Regions from separate parts of the Homo sapiens genome. Here region 2 is linked to region 1. The links are contacts of gene promoters, found by promoter capture Hi-C in blood cells and fetal thymus (Javierre and others, 2016). All regions are on one chromosome and are shown on one strand. The core of a region is centred on a gene start or on the middle of the fragment in contact, and the rest is flanking DNA. Distances in the headings are between cores, read along the strand shown.

Region 1 (2,700 bases), core at 129-2,628:
CAAAGGGACATAAGTGTCTATAGTCAGGGAGGACACCAATCTGGAGGTTGGAGTGCCTCCCAACAGGAATGGACCCTTGAGGTGAGAACGAAGTAGGAGTTAACACCAGATAAAGGAGATGGAACACATACCCCAGGCCAAGGGGACAGCAGGTGCAGAACCCTGTGGAAGGAGGGAAAATGGCAATCGTCTTTTTTTTTTTTTTTTTTTTTTTTAAGGAATAGAAGACAAGGGCATTTAAAGCAGTGAGGCACAGGAAGAATGAGGGGAGAGAAGAGGCAGCACTTACATCATTCATTGTACCACATTTGTTGACTGTGTCCTTCATGCCTCATGCTCTGAAATTGACCTTTTCCAATATAAGGACCATGTCTCACTGAAATCATGTCCACCCCAGCACTTCACACAATATAGAAAAAAAAATCAATGTACCCAATTTATAGATGAGTGTGTTGAGGCTCAGGAAGGTTGAATGAGTTGCCCAAGATCTCAAGGCTGGCAATGGCATAGCAACTATAATAGAATATAGACCTACTTCCTCACCTGCATCTCTTTCCTTAAACTGCCCCTAGGAAAACCACGTCCTTCCCCATTATTTTATTTCAGAAATTCCAAGTTTTTCTATGAGCTGTTTTTCTCAAAGAGCCTGATAACAAAACAAAACGCCAGTTACTACTCTGTGTATGTGCATGCATGTTGGGGAGCGGGTACACACTGGTCTTCCGGGGATCAGAACACGAACAGGATCCTTTCTGGTACAGGATTCTTGTCTGAAGCCTCTTTAATAGCCCGAAATGGTGTGGGTGGTGAGAATTCGCCGTCGTAAGGAAGCCCCTGGTGATACCCAGCAAAGAGCATCCCGGCTGACCCTGCAGGTCTGGAGTGAAAAGACCCTGCACTGGACTCTTCAGGGCAGTGAGCGGGATCTCTAGTTCCCTGCTTCCCAAACCTCTCCGCCCTTCCACCCAAAACTGGCTGTTTGAGAAACGACCCAATTTCCCGACTATCCCGCCCAGCCTCGAAGATGGGAGGGAGAGAGGGCAACCTTGTCGCGGTAAGGCATCCTCCAGGCCCAGACATTAGTCTCGGTCCATTTCAAGGCACCCGAGCCTGTGCCGTATATAACCAAGTACTGGGCCCACAGGAAGGGGGATGACAGGGTGGTCTCTCTAGGCTCGTTTTAGTCACAGATCTTCGGCAAATTTGGGTTTAGGGCCGCGATCCCGACCCTAACTTGGGACTATTTCAGGAACTGGAGTTGAGGCTTCGTTGGGACAGGAAAGAAGGGTGGGGCGGGGGTGAAGCGCTTAGGGCACGGCTCTTGTGAGGATTACGGCGGAGGCTGTGGACCGCGGCGGCGCTCGCAGAGGCTGCAGCCATTGCACAGCCGAGCATCCCACATTCAACAGGAGGAACCCGCGGGAGAGGAGCCCCACTCCCCCAGCGCCGCAGCCACCGCAGCCACCGCAGCCCGTGCGCCCCGCGCCCTCGAGCGCCATGGCCAAGGAAGGCGTGGAGAAGGCGGAGGAGACGGAGCAAATGATCGAGAAGGAGGCAGGCAAGGAGCCGGCGGAGGGCGGCGGCGGCGACGGCTCGCACCGCCTCGGGGACGCCCAGGAGATGCGCGCGGTGGTGCTGGCTGGCTTCGGGGGGCTCAACAAGCTGCGGCTCTTCAGGAAGGCCATGCCCGAGCCTCAGGACGGCGAGCTCAAGATCCGCGTCAAAGCCTGGTCCAGTATCCGCGCCTTTCTCGCTTTCTCTCTTTTTGCGCGCTGGGCGCTGGGGAGGGGGTGGGAAAGCTGCGGCTGGGATGCTGCCCGGGTAGAACCGCCGCGCGCACCCCCTCCGCGCCCTCACCCGGGTCTCAGAGCCTCCCCGGGCCAAAGCTGGGGAGGATGCAGAGGGGCGGCCTCCCCAAGCCAGATCTAGGGGTGACGGGAGGAGAATGTGAGCTCCTGGGCGCGGGGAGAATGCTGGCGCCCAGGCACCCCGGGTCTGGAAGATTGCGCTACGGGAGTTCTCCGTCTGAGAGGACAACTCAGCTTTCGCACGGGAGGGTTGATGCTTAACAGAATTAAAAATATATGTATTAAGAACCGCAAGCCCACTGTGTGCCAGCCGCCGTTGGTAGTTTTACACGTGCGATCTTATTTAATACTTCCTGGGACCTAATGAGTCAGGTGCCATCATGATCCGTTTACAGGTAAGAAAGCCGCCGCTCAGCGAGAATGAGTGATTTGCCCAAGATCAGTCAGCTGCCACTAAGTGGCTTGGCCGGGAATTTGATACATGATCTTTTTTCACCTCTATGCTGTTGTCCTGAAGGGCCTGGGACAGGGTGCAGGGCTGGATCCCGCCTCCTGCCCACTTCCTTCCCCGTAGCCTGACGGGGAAAGGAACTAGGAAGGAAGAGGGTCGGTACCTTGCACCCAGGCTTGGTGAGGGTGGAGACCAGGGCTGCAGCGCAACCCCCTCCATGCCCCTCTCCATCCTCTGTTTCTCCGAGAGGGGAAAAAACCCTGATCAGTCTCCCCGGAATTCCTGGTCCCATCTCAGAAGGAGCTCAGCTCTCTAAGCTGCCCTCTATTCCCCATTCCCCCTGGGGGAACTTCTCCAGGCCCTCACGCTCAGCTGAAATTCCCGGGGAGAGTTTAAGCCTCTCTGTGTGCGGGCACTGTAATTTCCCTGAAGTTCTGGGAA
Region 2 (2,700 bases), core at 177-2,676, 210 kb after region 1:
GTACTGCTAATGGTACCAAATATTTTCTTTTAATGACAGACCTTCTTAGAGCCTTTCCTCACTAGTAGCTGCCCTGTGACCTTCCGAGATGAGTTCTAATACTCAGTTCCCATGGAGGCTTTTATCAGAATTCTGGGGAACACACTCTGGGGAACCCTGACCTAGGATCATCTAGTCCAGTGGAGGTTTTTCTCATGTTCTTTGCATTTTGTAGAACAGCAAAATGGGAGGAGCTTAAACCACCTTGCAATATTGTCAAGAGAATAAAACAAGAAATCGTATAGAATGAGCAAAGCTGCCAATTCTCCCTTAGGAAGAATAGCAAATATTTACCATGATTCTTCATGGCCAAGTCACAGAAAAAGTTGAATGGCCACTATATTATAGCGATTAAGGACATGGCTCTATAGTCAAACTACAAGGATTTTATAAATCCTGGCCTTACTGCTGATTTACGATCTGTAGGTCCTCGGGCAGGCTTGTCATAACCTCACGTAACCACACCACTTTCCTTATAAATAGAGTGAGGATAACAGCCATCAGTCTGTTGGGCTATCAAGAGAATTAAGATCATATACATAAAGCATTTAGCTTAGTGTTTGGCTCATAGAGCTCACATACCATCAACTCATTAGCATAGCTGGACAATTTTAACCTCAGTAAGAAAAGGAAGTCTCAAAAGATTACAGTGACAAGTACATATTTCAAAAACTTTAAACTTCACTATAAAGTAAAAACAAAAGTTGTAAGAAATCCTTGAACTTGGACTCTGGACTGTTTCCCAATAACACATGCTAATGTGATAGCTAAGTCACTGAGCCTGCAGTGCAAATCCTGTTGCACCTCCTTAAAAAATCCTGAAACAAGTACAGGAGCCCTGCCCTTCACCTTCAGGAGTAGAGAATTTGATGTCATAGTGCTACAGGTCCACATTGACATTTGATTTCTCCAGGAGGGGAAAAAAAAACGTATTTGGTCATAAAGAAGCCATGAGTTATTTGTTAGATGAGGGTGGGCACCCTATTTTGCTTTTATGAAGCTTTCCTGGGAGAAAAAACTCTGCTACATTTTTAGTACCTAAATAGGGGATGCATCAGGATTGGAGGCAGTTAAAATAGCAATTACCAACAGCAGCTCTCTCCGGTCTACAATATCATAGAGGATTTCTATTTCCTACATTATTTGCTTTTATAATCTATGGATTTGTAGAATGTACATGCATCATTGTGCACGTAATCCAGAAAACAAAAAACATATGTGTATGTACATATGCACGTGTATGCACGTGTGTGTGTGTGTGTGTGTGTGTGTGTGTGTGTGTGTGTGTGTGAAGCTGGAGGTAGCTGGAGCATCTCTGGACCTCCAAGAGGGCTGATGAGAGCCCCAGAAAGGCTCCCCAGAAAGCCTAAGGGAGTGTTTCTCAAACTTCAGTTGTACCTCAGAATCCTAGGAGACTTGTGAAAAGCCAACACAATTGCAGACTAAAGCCCTCCCAGAGATTCTGATCTACGGAGACTGCCATTGCCTAGGAATCTGCATTTTTATGTACAGCAGCCCCAGGCGATTCTGCTGCATTTTGAAAAGTGCTGGTTAGGACCCGGGCCTCTCCTGTGATGGAAATGATCTGAGACTGCACAGCCCAGTGTCATCTCACCATGACAGGGGAGGCCCTGTTCTATACCTGGGTCTGTAGGTCAGGAGTGTGGGATGGCTCATGGGAAGGGGAGAAAGAGCTTGCAACTAAGATGTTCCAATATATTTTTAAAAATTAGATGCTAAATTTATAAAAATATACAGATCTACAGTTGCATGAAAAGCTTTTTCTCAATCCTATCTGTGAATTTCTATGGCAATGGAAATAAATTCATTTGAGGATAAAGGGGAAAGTCTAAGTGTCAGACCTTTTGTGAAAGAGACCTCACCTTCTGCCTCCCTCCCTTCCCCCTCTTCCGCCGCCATGACAAGCCCCAGCCTAAAAGGACATTCAAGGCTCCTCCCAGAAGGCTCCCAGCCAGCCAGCAACCGGGTACCAAGCTTGGACTTGGCGTCAGCCTCCTGCCACCTAGTGGTCAGTCCGGGACACACAGCTAATTTATCTTAATTTCCACTCCACTCTCATTGGTTGATCCAGCGGACATTTGTCTAGCTCCTGTAATGTTGCCAGGCAATTTGCTGGGCTATGGAGGTAACAACGACTTCGTCTTATAGCGCTGAAAGGAATGTGCTGGCATTAGTTAAATCATTCCCAATGGTGAAACTGAGGCCTGGAGGCAGGGAGTATGGCTTACACAGGGTTCTGCATCAACTCTGATAACTCGCTTAAAATATCCTTTTCTCAGCCAGGCGCAGTGGGTCACTCCTGTAATCCCAGCCCTTTGGGAGCCCAAAGCAGGGGAGGACTGCTTGAGGCCAGGAGTTCAAGGCCAGCCTGGCCAACATGGTGTAACCCCCTCTCTACTACAAATGCAAAAATTAGCCAGGCGTGGTGGTGCATGCCTGTAATCTCAGCTACTCGGGAGGCTGAGGCACGAGACTCACTTGACCCTGGGATGCAGAGGTTCCAGTGAGCTGAGATCACTCCACTGCACTCCAGCCTGGACGACTGAGCGAAACTGAGCAGGGGATAAGCTAAGCCCAGACTCTTGACCTGTAGAAACTCATCATGAATATGATCATATCATAAACAAGCCTCAGAGTTTG

Evidence for each region. The method cuts DNA at HindIII sites, captures the fragments that hold promoters and counts their contacts. A CHiCAGO score of 5 or more calls a contact.
Region 2: a contact is called between a fragment that was not itself captured here and the fragment with the promoter of VAT1L in region 1, in 3 of 17 cell types (M0 macrophages, M2 macrophages and endothelial precursors). The highest score is 6.6, in M0 macrophages.

The regions. Positions count from the first base shown.
Region 1 is chr16:77,787,186-77,789,885 of GRCh38, forward strand. VAT1L (vesicle amine transport 1 like) reads left to right here and starts at 1,379. Exons shown (of 9, transcript NM_020927.3): 1 at 1,379-1,730. The coding sequence starts at 1,498. All of the region lies in intron 1 of LOC107984878 (a long non-coding RNA gene), which reads right to left. The HindIII fragment of the contact is 9,864 bases long and covers 1-2,700 here.
Region 2 is chr16:78,001,070-78,003,769 of GRCh38, forward strand. No RefSeq gene overlaps it. Among named protein-coding and RNA genes, the nearest start is that of CLEC3A, 20 kb to the right of the region's middle. RefSeq lists a silencer at 1,962-2,161. The HindIII fragment of the contact is 778 bases long and covers 1,038-1,815 here.